Linked DNA regions of Homo sapiens: region 1 is linked to region 2. Evidence: promoter capture Hi-C in 16 types of primary human blood cells and fetal thymus (Javierre and others, 2016). All regions are on one chromosome and are shown on one strand. The core of a region is centred on a gene start or on the middle of the fragment in contact, and the rest is flanking DNA. Distances in the headings are between cores, read along the strand shown. Region 1 overlaps NDST4 (N-deacetylase and N-sulfotransferase 4). Region 2 holds the start of NDST3 (N-deacetylase and N-sulfotransferase 3).

Region 1 (6,760 bases), core at 3,466-5,965, 2.9 Mb before region 2:
ATTGCACCACTGCACTCCAGCCTGGGTGACAGAGGGATACCCTGTCTGGAAACACACAAAAACCAGAAAACACAAAAATTATTATATAAACATTTAACTATTTGTTCATATACATTAACTGCACCAGTGCTTCTTTGGAGTGAATTCCAAAATTTGTAACCATCTAAAATGGTTTGGCTGTGTCCTCACCCAAATCTCATCTTGAATTACAGTTCCCATAATCCCCATGTGTTGTAGGAGGGACCTGTTGGGAGGTAATTGAATCATCGTGGTGGTTATCTCCATGCTGTTCTTGTGATAGTGAGTTCTCATGAGATCTGATGCTTTTATAAGGAGCTTCCCCCCTTTGTTCAGCACTCATTCTCTCTCGTCACCCTGTGAAGAGGTACCTTCTGCCATGATTGTAAGGTTCCTGAGGACTCCCCAGCCATGAGGAACTGCGAGTCAATTAAACCTCTTTTCTTTATAAATAACCCAGTATCAGGTGTTTCTTCATAGAAGCGTGAGAATGGACTAATACACTAAGCAAGTACCTCAGAGAGTGAGGCACTGCTGTAAATACCCTGAAAATGTTGAAGCAACATTGGAACTGGGTAACAGGCAGAGGTTGGAACAGTTTGGAAGGCTCAGAAGAAGACAGGAAAGTAAGATAAAGTTTGGAACTTCCTAGAGATTTGTCGAATAGCTTTGACCAAAATGCTGATAACAATATGAACAATGAAGTCCAGGCTGAGGTGATCTCAGATGTTGATGAGGAACTTGTTGGGAACTGGAATAAAGGGGATTCTTGCTATGCTTTAGCAAAGAGACTGGGCCCTGCCCTAGAGAGCTGTGGAACTTTGAACTTGAGAGAGATGATTTAGGGTATCTGGTGGAAGAAATTTCTAAGTGGCAAAGCATTCAAGAGGAAGCGAAGCATGAAAATTTGGAAAATTTGCAGCCCGATGATGCAGTAGAAAAGAAAAACCCATATTCTGGGGAGAAATTCAAGCCTGCTGCAGAAATTTGCATAAGTAACAAGGAGCAGAATGTTAATCACCAAGACAATGGGGAAAACATCTTCAGGGCACGTCAGAGACCTTCATGGTAGCCCCTCCCATCACAGGCCTGGAGGCCTAGGAGGAAAAAATGGATTCATGCACCAGGTCCAGGGTCCCCCCTGCTGTGTGCAGCTTGGGATTTGGTGCCCCGTGCCTCAGGCTACTCCAGCTGTGGATAAAAGGGGCCAACATATAGCTCTGACTGTTGTTTCAGAGGGTGCAAGCCCCAAGCCTTGGTGGCTTTCATGTGGTGTTGGGCCTGTTGGCACACAGAAATCAAGAATTGAAGTTTGAGAACCTCCGCCTATAATTCAGAGGATGTATGGAAATGTCTGGATGTCCAGGCAAAAGTTTGATGCAGGGGCAGAGCCTTCATGGAGAACCTCTTCTAGGACAGTGTGGAAGGGAAATGTGGGGTTGTAGCCACCCCCCCCACAGTCCCTACTGTGGCACTGCTTAGTGAGAAGAGGGCCAGCATCCCCTAGACCCCAGAATGGTAAATTCACCACATCTTGCATCATGTACTTGAAAAAGCCACAGACACTGAATACCAACTGTGAAAGCAGATGTGAGGGGGGCTGTACCCTGAAAAGCTACAGGGGTGGAGCTCCCCAAGGCCATGGGAGCCCACCTCTTGCGTCAGCATGACCTGCATGTGAGACATGGAGTCAAAGGAGATAATTTTGGAACTTTAAGCTTAATGACTGCCCTATTGGATTTCAGAATTTCGTGGGGCCTGTAGCCTCTATGTTTTGGTCAAAGTCTCCCATTTGGAAGGGGTATATTTACCCAATGCCTGTACCCCCATTGTATCTAGGAAGTACTTAACTTACTTTTGATTATACAGGCTCATAAACAGAAGGGACTTGCCTTGTCTCATATGAGACTTTGGACTTGGACTTTTGGGTTAATGCTGGAATGAGTTAAGACTTTGGAGGACTGTTGGAAGGGTAAAATGTGAGGACATGAGATTTGGGAGGGGCAGGGCCATAATAATATGGTTTGGCTCTGTGTTCCCACCCAAATCTCATCTCGAATTGTAGTTCTCATAATTCCTACGTGTCATAGAAGGGACCTGGTGAAAGGTAATTGAATCATGAGGGTGGTTACCCCCATGCTGCTCTCATGATACTGAGTGAGTTCTCACAAAATCTGACTGTTTTATAAGGTGATTTTCCCCCTTTGCTCAGCACTCATTCTCTCTCCTGCCACCCTGTAATGAGATGCCTTCTACCATGATTTTAAGTTTCCTGAGGCCTCCCCAGCCATGTGGAACTGTGAGTCAATTAAACCTCTTTTCTTTATAAATTACCCAGTCTTGGGTATTTCTCCACAGAGTGTGAGAATGACTTAGTACCTCATCTTTCAAGAGAGATGCAGTATTTTTCAAATTACAGGTCACCAACAAGTAAGTGAAAATGAAGTAGACCAGAATAGAAATATTGTCATACTTCATGTACAGCAGAGGTAAGTAGTGCTTTATGAAACTTTATGTTATGGTGTCCGTATATGCATGTGTGTGTATTTGGATACCAATGTAAGATTATTGCTTATTCTGGGTCATGGTCAAAAGTGTTTGAGGAGCACTACTCAGTAGGGCACAATTAATTCAAATTATTTAATCTGGTTAAAAGAATTATAAATATCATAAAGGTTTTAGCTAAAGATCAATGCAGTCTCTTATGATTCTGAGTGGTTTTGGAAAATATCCAATATTGATTAAATAGTAGTTGAGACTATGAAATGGTTGATATCACATGGTTGGTCCCATGGAATTCCTTTCAGCTTCCAGGCCAAAAAATATTATGATATTATTTTCAGTAGCAACCACTGCTACATAAATCATAAATTTTTCAAAATAGAGGTACAAAGTAATGAGTAATTGTTATATTTAATCAAAATCGAGGTAGTATGCCCAGTTTATAATTTTCTGCAGAAATGATCTTTTCTATACCCATAAATAACCAGTTGATATCACCTAACTTCCATACACTTCATATATTCTTGATTTCAGTGACATAATATAAATTTATTTTAGTCCCCAAAGTGTGCATTTTTACCAGTACAAACTCCTAAAAGTGTCATTTCAAACATAATGATAACATTACTACCATAATATTATATTGTAACATAATATTATACTAGGTTCATAGCTCTGAGCTATCAGCTACATTCATACTTCAAAAGATTATGAAGTCAACTCAGTAAATAGAAGAGTAAATGTCAGGCGGTTTCTTTTATCACCATTTCCTGCAGAAATATGTATAGTGCCTATTCACCATTTTCTTAGTTCTTATTTTCTAAAGCAAAGAAAGGACATGATTTTTTAAAAATAAAGAGTCTAATTTATTAAAAGCAACTGCAAATTTCTATGCATTCATCTTGCTTATTAGAAAAACATGGGGATTTTGCAAATAAAGAAACTTTTATGTGGATATTTCTTCTGCTTTGCCATATAAGATTTAGATAGAGTAGTAGAAATGCTATCCGTGGCCAAGTTGAGAGGTCTGGTAATCACTGCTTGGAACTTTGTATTTATATTTATAGCTAAGATTTCATCACTGAATTTTACCCTTATACTACTAAAATAATAATCAAATGCCCAGAATGTGTGGACCAGAATTAAACAGGATTAAACAATTTTTGAATGCTTAGATCTGCCCCAGGGTTTCTGACATTCAGAAAGTTTCCTCAGGACCTTACTTAGGATGACTTTGGGATAAATCTGTGACTCTGTCTCATTTTGTATAGATTTGGAGGTAATATTTACAATGGGACATTTATAATCAAACTGAAACCAGACAGGCTATCTAAAATTCAGTTCAATCATGGATTTGCTCCTATTTTTCTCTTTTATGTAAGAAGCCAAGGCATTTATCTGACATCCATTCAGCAAATATATGTATTAACATTTATCAAGAGCCTATTTGCCAGGTACATCTGCAAATTCAAGTATTTCTCTTATTACCAGCAAAAACATCTAAATTATTTTGTTTTAATCTGTTCTCTGTTTCTTCCCTTTCCTATTTCCCCTTCTTCTCTAGAATTTTTTTCTTTTCTTATATTTTTCCTTGACAGTGGATGGTTTTAAAGTTACTGACTTAAGCTTATGCTAATGGAGTTCATGTGAAAAGTGTTGGCATTAATCTGCTAATCTATGTAACAATGTTGCGATTTCCTATCTTGATTTTTTTTCACTCCATATAAACAATTTATATGGAAGCTACAAAGGATGACTGAGGAAATATAATATCATATATAATATCATGATATGCTTTCCTGTTTAGATGTAATATTATTAGCCATTTTCATTCAAAAGTAAACTTTTTTTCTGTAACTTATCAGCAAGGATGATGTGAAAATGTTTTAGAAACTCAACTGCTTTTTTTCTTAACAAAATTTATGTATATTTTATACTTGAAAGTATTATAAATTTTGAAAACCCATAATATTAAAAATAAAATGAACATTAACAAATTCTTATTTCTTTCTATATTTTTCTGTATAATGTGTTTTTACAGTTTAAAATATAATTTTTATCTTATTTTTACACTTAGATTATGATAGTTATAATAAAAGGGGAAATGTGATTGAGACATCTTTGAAATATACATCATTATTTTATTTCTATTTCCCCAACTTATACTATTTTGATGATTTCAATAACTTTCTAAGCCACATGGTCCCTCTCCCTAGCTCCACAATCTTCTACTTTACAAAAAAAACAGAAAGTGAAGGTTGAACTGGCTCAAAATTATGCAGGGAGCCAAGCTGACTCCCTCCCACTAATGTTTCCCAAACTGAAAAATTCTCACTGTCCTTATCTGCCTCCTGATTCCATAGATAATGTATATCTCTTCTAAAGTTAATTTTTTTTTTTTTGCCTCCACCTATTTTCTAGAACTTCAGCCTCTCTCTTCTAGGGACTTTAAAAAACTGGTATAATGCTTTGTTAGTAATTGACCATAAACAGCATCTAAATGTTTCATCTGTAGACCATAAACACCTTCTAAATGTTTCATTTGTAATTATAATCTTCAGGTATCTGAATGGCTTCAGTCCCTACCACTTCCTCACCTTTCCTAGTTTCTGGGTTCTGTGTTTATTTTAGTTGGAGACTCCAGGTATCATTTTGTTAAGAAGTTTAGCTCATGCCCATGTTCATAACATTTTCTGTCACTCTCACCCCCACTCCCGCCCCCAATCCAAGCAACTGCCCTAATTTTTCTCTTTAGCTTCAGAGTCAAGCTTTTTGAGAGTTTACTCTTATAAATTGTTTCATCTTGTTATTCCTGCACTTTATGTGTTGAACCATTTACAGTTCTGGAATGACCCAGGTTATCTCTTTTATCTTTAAGTCTAATCAGTTCTTATTCATTTTTAGAAAGATTCAGCTTGGATAAAACTACCTCAAAAAAGTCACCCCTGGCATTACAGAAGTTAGTTTAGTGAGTGTGTCTGTCTCCACAATGCTGTCATAGTACAGCCTATAACACAGACATTTTAAATGAGTAATTATTCATGGATTTCCACCAAGGCAGGAACTGTGATTTATTTAGAATTGAATCTTCTGCATTTTGTAAACTTCCTGCTATTTAATGCACAAAACAATTATGCCAAAACAACAATAACCATATTTATGTCTTGAATATATTCACCTTCTTTCTCTACCCCAAGGTACAACTCAAATGATCTTTTCTCCAGACACTTGTTGGGAAAGGTGGTGGATGGAAGGAGTCTGAACTTCAGTTTCTTCATTTTCTAAATGAAGGATATAAAATGGTTTATATTTCTATTTCCATGTATACACTCATCAGGGAAGATTTGGAAGGATGCTCAACAAAATATTGATCGTCTCTGTTTTGTATTTTCTATATTATTTCATTTTTTTCAAGAATCATATACTAGCTGTATAAAAGCACAAAAATGTAGGATCTTTTAAATGGGTGAGTTTCATAACTGTAAGTTTGCTTCAAACTATAAAATTCTATAATCTTATGAATAACAAGCCTTTCCTATTCATGCCTGTCTCTGGTAGTCTTTCTTCCTCTAAATCTCTGAAGAATATATTGTCCTTATCTTTTTTATAATACCTTTGCATTTTTACATAACTGGTTTATGTGTCTTCCCCAGAAGACTGTGGGTACATTTTCAATAGCCTAATCTATATAAAAAGCTTCTCTTTTCACAATAAGCTACTTAGTTTATTTTCCTTCAAGCATAACCCAATACTAAATTAGACACACAGTAGATTAGTAACAATCTTGAGTAAGTCAGTTAAATTGACGTTCAATGTTATAATGTTTTAATAGTTTTTTATTGGAACAATGATCTCAGAATCAAGCCTAAAGTTTTGAAAATTGGAAAACCAATTGCACCAAATTATCTCTAAGTTTACTGATTATCAACCAGACCCCATTTGTAGTCACAGGATATGTAGGTCTGGAGAAATCTGGATTATATTAATATTGGTATATGTCCCCACAGAATTTATCTATTTATTTATATTAATTTTATTTTTATATTTTGGTAAGCACACAAAATTTGATCTACCATCTTCACCAACTTTAAGTGTAACATGCAGTATTATTGCAGTATTATTTAAAAGTCTCAGCTGATTATTTTTAAATACAATGATAAATATATCATTTCTACCTCAATCATTAATTTTTTATGTTATTTTTAGAAGACTTTTTCTAATGAATTTTTTACTACTCAAT
Region 2 (7,133 bases), core at 643-3,142:
CCAAGCTCGAAAATCTCCATCTGGGTTTCACTTTTCTCCAACTCTCAGTTCTGCCTTCCTGAGTATCAGCTTTATTTTCAGACTTCAAGCTCTAAGCTCACATCTTCATTATGCAAAGTCCAGTAGAAGAGAGTCCACTTTCTTAAGAGAGGAAGGAAAAAAAAAAGTCCCAGAATGGTGGTTTTTTTCTGTTTTTCTCTCTGATTGGCCAGACCTGGGTTACATACCTACCCATGCTACCAGGACAGAAAGCCATCACTGGCCAGACCTGAGCTGTGGGTCTACCAGTGAGTCAGCAGCGGCTGACATCACCTAAAGCAAATGGGCTGCGGGGTGAGATCAAGTGGTTGGATCTTCCAAAATGAACAGGAGTACTGTTTCAACAAGAGTGAGTGCTGGGAAGCAAAACCACAAATGGCCAATACAAAGTATCATTAGTAGACCCCACTTAATACAATTCACATGTTAGTGGAACCAAATGAAATTTTTAAAAATATATATCATTCGATTCACACTTCTAATCAAACTATAGTTCTGGAGAGGGTAACCTCACACCTTGAATCCAAAATATCTCTTCAGTTGCTGGCCTTCCACTTGTCTTCAGGAGCTGAAACACATGGCATTTGAAAAAAACTGGCGAACAGAGGAAACTCTTGCAGCCTCGCAGCCGCCCTGGTCCAGTGCCAACGGCAGGAGCACCACAGGAAGGGACCGCGCGGGTGCGCCCCACCCTTCCAGCGTCGCCTCGGGGACTCGCACCCCTTTCCCTGGCCGCACAAGACGTTTCATCCTTGGCGGCCGCCGCCAACCCGCCGGGAGGGGCGGTCGGAACTGGCAGGCCGGGGCGGAACCCCCGGGGTCTCCTTGTCGAGGCCCGGGCAGCCAGATCCTCAGGGCCGGTCCGGGCGGGAGCCCGGTCGATGGAGGCGGCTCCCGTCCTCAGCTCCCGCTCCCTCCCCTTCCCCGGGGCGGGCGCGCGCGGGCCGGGAGCTGGGAGGCGGCGGCTCCCGCCCGGGAGGCGGTGGCGAGGGCGGCGGAGGCGCGGCCGGGCGGGTCCCAGGGCCGTGGTTCTCCAGCGCAGGAGTCCCCGGCGCACCCGCTGCGCTCGCCCCGCAGCCGCAGCCTGAGCGGCCGAAGTCGCCACCAGCTGTGTCCGCGCAGATCCCGGGCGCGGAGGGGAGAGGTCGCCCGCTTGTCGCCCCCGCCGGACCCCGGGCACCGCGTAGCACCCAAGCGCCACCCGGACGAGGGGCCCTGGGGAGCGGCTGAGGCCGAAGACCCGAGGGAAGGAGGAGCCCGCGGACGGCTGCAGCCCCAGGTAATCTCCATGGAGGACGGGGCCGGTCTCCTCGCCCAGAAACCCGATCCGGGCGCCTTGGAATGCGGACTCCAGAGGCGGCATCTCGACCAGACAAGTTTCTCGCGGCTTGGAATGAGGGAGTCCTGAAACCGACACTCGTTTTATTTAACCAGCTTTTTTCTCCTGTTTTAAATAAGTTTATTTAGACAATGGAAAGAAAAAAACAAACAGCCTCTTGAGTGACTGTGGGTTTGTAAATATAATCCTAAAAGTTTTTCATGGTGTGGTTATTTGCTTGCTCATATTTATTAACCTGTTAACTCTTCCGCTAGTCAGAAAATTGACATGTAAAATATTCTTTGAGGAACGTTACAAGTTTGCTGTTGTATTCGGGCATCCTGTTATTCATCAGCTTAGTTAGCATCTGTCTTCCCCCGAAGTGGTACCAAAGCCGGTCCCTTGGCGACGGGTCTTGCATGTGACACTCTTGCCCTCTAGTGCCTCACCAGCTTGGTAGCAGTTTGATGGCTAATATTAATAAGATGTTACATAACATGAGAGTACTGGGCCAGGACTGGTGTTGCTACCACTTGTAAAGTCAAAAAGCCTGAGCCGATGGTAACGAGTGGTACTGTTTCCGTTTCTTTTCCATCTATTGCAACTTTCTCAAGCATTTTCAGCTCTGAACTTTAATTCCAGGTAAGTGTATTTATTTATTTATACTGTGCATTAATGCCTCACTCATAAATGTAGGGGCTTTTAAGAGATAACAACTTTGCTTTCAAATAATCTAAAAATTTCAAGATTGAACAAGTGCTTCATTTTATTCTTGAAGAAGAAATATAGAGTATTTTGATTAAATTAAGTGAAACAAAGGACCGTCTCATTCAGGGATGATTTTAAAGCTTCCCTTTCATAAGATTATGGTACTAAAGAAATGACCTCTTGTAATTGTTTAAGATATTCACCAACTTATAATGATTCTGAAGTAGATCTGTTTAACAGAACACATGTCTGTTGCCTTGACAGAATTTTGTAAGGAATATCAGAGACTTTAAACTACCTGCCTATCTACACAGTAATGATCCTCAAAAGGCTTTCTATTTGATGCAGTTTATAGACATTATTTAAAACTATACAATTAATAAAATTAAATGGAAATGGAAAGAATCAATCTAGGTATCAAATACAGAAACTTTAAATTTAAAGAAAACAGATATATCTTCTATTTAATATATCCATTTTGTGGGGGCAGGTAAAAGCAAAGTTACATCTTTAAGGGGTTTACTCAGATCCTTTTTCAAATAGTTTTTCTAATAGCTGGATACTGTTTAAGCATCAGAGTTATTTAATGTCGAAAATGTATTAGTATCTATATTCTTTATAAACATATTGAAATATAGCAACATGTAATCTGGAAGAGTTTAGAAGAAAACCCTTCTAGACAATGCAAACAGCTACATTCTTAATACATTTGTATTAAATTAAAATACAAATCAAATATTGAGATGTGTGCAACTGATCTGGGACACACACTTTTTTTTTGTTTTTTTTTTTTGCCCTTAGAAAATTTCATGTTATCAACTACTGAGCAATGCTGTTCACCACCAGAGAGCAGGATGATATGGCAGAGAAACTCTAGAATATCCGATATTCAGCTGAAGGGAATTTTTTTCCCTTTTTCTTCATCCATACCTTCCTATCAATATTATATTTAAGATGGAGATTTCAAATATAAGTTTGAAGGAGGCTCCTTTTTAAAATAGTACTGAACATATAAAGAGGCTTGCCTAAGATAAGCTCTTTTTTTTCTTTCTCTGGTTAACACAGTATCTACCATTTCTAATTTTGTTATCATTTTTCTTTATCATCTTGATGGTAAAACAGAAGATTTGTTTCTTTGTGTAAATAATGTTAATTTTGAGCTTGTCACATGAGTTAATTTTCTTCATAGTCTTTAAAATGAAGAATTCTTACATTACTAAAATGTTTTAGATAAAATAAAACTTTTATCTCTTTCTGGAGATATTTGTTATAGTTTAGTTTGGTGGAGTTATATATACCCTCTTTTTAAATTAATTTTCTTGAGAAAAGCATTATTTCTGAACATTGAGGCAAATATTAATTTTTGGTGTAACTGAAAAGTTTGTTAAAAAATATATAGTAGAAGAGATAATCAGGCATTGGAGATTCTTTTTCTAAACCATATATTCTGCTAAAGAAGTTATTATAAGCTAAAATGTAAATATGTAATTGTCTACCTGTCATTTCAAAATTTTAAAACTGTAAAGAAATTACAATTTTTTTTCTTTTAATCTTGGGACTCTGATTATATGACTTCCTTGAAACCTGATTGAGTTTCAGCTGCTTTTTGGTGATTAGAGCCTTAAAAGTGCATTTGTTAAGATGCAAAATATATTTTTTTAAACTATATGTAAATACTTTGTGATTTATATACACTATAAAATCAGGGAAATTGAATTAAGGATAAAAACACTATTCTCAACTAAATGAATGCCTTGAATTTCTAATTGCTTAACAGTTCTGACAGTAAGGGAAAACAGTAGAAGTTTACTTTCCCTGTGCTGTGTCTATTATAAATGAGCATTCACACTGAAATGCATGAACTCTGAACACCTGTCCAGATTAGGAATGCTGCCAGGCCACAAAAGTAACGACCTACATTATAAAGATAATTAGTCTGAACAATCCTCAAAACTATTTCATGACTGAAGTTTCTCGTAAAGGGGTGATTTTAATATTTCTTGGTTTGTCTGTTTGTTTATAGTAAAAAACTATACTCTTAGATACCTGGATATCACAGTGAGTGATTTATTCTTTCATGTTACTCTAAACATTTTCATCGATTTCATGTAAGTTACAGGACAAGAAAAAAAAAGTAGTCAGGACCTACTACAATTAATTAATGTCTATAAGAAATTATTTCCCCAAATCTTCTACAAATTACTGAGGGCTATAATTCTTGATTACCTGTTGCCAAATAAGAGCTTAAAAATCAATTATTGCAGTCCTATCCTAAAACCTTTAAGCATCTCAATTATGGGTATCCATTTTACATGTGTTTCATTGCTGAATTTTTTTTTTCATTAAAATATTTGAAAATAACATGAAAGTAGACCTAAATTCTAGGACTGGCTCTGCCAAGACAGGAGTGGCCTTGAACAGCTCCCTTGCTGGCTCTGGGGCTTGGTTTCTTCACCTGAAAAATGAGGATTCCAGAGACCCTTTTTTATCCTGTTTGTTCAACATTTTAGAAATTGATCTGGAGGCCAGGACGAAGATAGATGAGAAAACATCAGTGAATAATACAAAATTTAACTTGGTGATAAGTACTATTGTCTAGATTTCTGCTAAGTAGAGATGTTACAGTTTTTACTCATAGAATAGTTACCTTGTACCAGGCACTGTTCTACTTTACATATTAATTTTTAGCTCATATAATCTTCACAAAGATTATTTAAGGTAAATATTATTCCTGTTTCACAAATGAGGAAATTGAGGCACTGAGCGGTTACCTACCTGCCTAAGATCACATCCCTGGCAAGTGCTGAAGCTGGTATGCAGTTTGAGTCCGGCTCCAGCACACATTCCTTTAACCGTTATACTACATTGTCTCTCTATAGGTTTCAAATATTTGTTCTTGATATGCCTCTTGATGGAACAGAGGTAATCCATATACCACTCCAACAATTTCCATCACTTCCCTTACATATGAAATACTCATTCATTCACCCAGGAGGTATTTACTAAGCATCTACTTTTGCACCAGGCATAAAGGAGTCCACAGGACAATTAAATGTGGTGCCTTCCCTAGCTAAGTATATACAGTCTAGTTCAGGTGATTTCTTTCTCCTCTTTTGCTACTGCTGTTAGGTTGAGTCTCACTTGTTCTAAAATGTGCCCAAGGTAACAGAAGAATAATTTACCTGACGCCTTTATTGATGTGTCCATAGAATAGAGAGTAATAGAACCTTCAACCTCCTCAAGACTCCCTATATCATATTTTTTCATTATTCGTTTCTACTCTTTTTGCATCATCTTCTCTCTGCAGATTGGCTGTCTTTCCTTATCTGGTTCATGTAACCTGCCCTAAAACATAGCCAACACTGATCTGTAACTTTACATCTAATGGTCCAGGCAACCAATGAGAGGCCAGGTTAACACTCTCTTGTTCCCATGAGTCTAATGAAGGACAAAGAAAAGGTTTGGATTAGACCCTAAAAGCTGCATTGTCAGCACTCACATATGTCATATGTGAGCATGTGTGACAGAATATGTCAGCGTATTTTGATGCATGCATTCTGGTCCAATCTTAGAGGGTAAAGGCAGACATTTTCCCCCTTAAGTCATATAGGGCAGAATAAACAGCAAACAGCAGTGGGGTAGTTTTCTTCTCTTGCATCACTGGATGGCATAACACTGAGGGAGGTGAATAAAACATATTCTTCTCTTCATAATTTCTAATACAAAGATGGAGGGAGAATGATAATAGAAAGTCATTTTCCATTTAATGTACCAAACAAAGCTAATGCCCTCAAGTGCAGCTTTTCTCCCATCCATCTTTTAAAAATTGCAGTTCTAGAGACAGAGTGTATTCTTGGTCATACTCCATGTAAATCAGCTTCTTACTTGCCTACCACAGCAGGGTTTAATTAACATGACACAATTTCACACATTCTTTCCCAAAGAAAAGCTTGCCCTTGTCAATTTTTATTATTATTACTAAATTACTTTTAGCAAGTCCATGTAACATATTTGAGGCCTCCCACTGCATTTTTCAACATTATAAAATATAGTTTTATAGTTCATTCCTTTTTCAGAAAAAGGAATATTGTCAGGATCTTTTAAATATCTTTCATTTATGTTAGAACCTGAAGCTCTTTAGTTATTAATACTCATTTTCCAGATGGTAATCTTTTTTCACTTTTCTTGTACTGCCAACTTTAACATGATTCTATTTCATTTAGAAATTGATTTTTACTTTGGGATGATGGTGGGTGTTAGTGGAAGAGAAAAGATAGGTTACATTGACAAGCAGGCACTTCCCCTTGCAGATATTGCAATACTTTGCAGAATATATGTTTGTATATATTGAGTTCTTTCACTATGTTATGGAATTGTCTGTGATTCCAAAAACTAATTGCTTCTTCTGCCTTTTGTTAATGGTAAATAATTAATGGTTAATATTTGCTTGGTGGAGTCTTTTTAAAAACAGATGCATTGCAAAGCAACTCTATTCATGCTGAATTCTGAAAAATCTCAGAATGGAAAAAATAAGTAATTGAGTAAATTTCAGTGAAAAGCACATTCTGGATATGCCTGATTTATGGCTCTGATCAAGGTGGTCACTGCTATTCACAATGTTTATATTATTGCCTTGACTGTTTGAGGCCAGTGTGACTGATGAAGGTAGCTGTTCATAGAAGATGGTTTGACTTAAATACTGCCCTAGTTTGTGAGTGCCAGCTGCTATTTGTAAAATTTAGTAGAGGCCTTTTTTCACTCATTCAACAAATATTCAATGGGCTATTCTCACTTCAAGTACTCTATTAGACATTAAAAATATAGAAGTGAACAGGACAAGTACTTACAGATGCTTCCAAGCTATGGAGAAAAATTGCATAACTAATTATAACAGAAAATCACATAACTAATTATAACTTTGGAACATACTACAGAGGTAAAGTAGAGAGTGATGTGAGAATGTGTAACAGGGAGGCCTGACAGATAAGGGGGATCAGGGAAGACTTTTGTGAGGCAGGGATATATATACTTAGAACCATAGGATTTGGAAGATGAAACCAGATGGGGA

The links. The method cuts DNA at HindIII sites, captures the fragments that hold promoters and counts their contacts. A CHiCAGO score of 5 or more calls a contact.
Region 1: a contact is called between a fragment that was not itself captured here and the fragment with the promoter of NDST3 in region 2, in 1 of 17 cell types (endothelial precursors). The highest score is 5.4, in endothelial precursors.

Annotation. Positions count from the first base shown.
Region 1 is chr4:115,083,412-115,090,171 of GRCh38, forward strand. All of the region lies in intron 1 of NDST4 (N-deacetylase and N-sulfotransferase 4), which reads right to left. Among named protein-coding and RNA genes, the nearest start is that of NDST4, 27 kb to the right of the region's middle. The HindIII fragment of the contact is 1,142 bases long and covers 4,145-5,286 here.
Region 2 is chr4:118,032,594-118,039,726 of GRCh38, forward strand. NDST3 (N-deacetylase and N-sulfotransferase 3) reads left to right here and starts at 1,893. Exons shown (of 14, transcript NM_004784.3): 1 at 1,893-1,999. The HindIII fragment of the contact is 5,573 bases long and covers 1-2,203 here.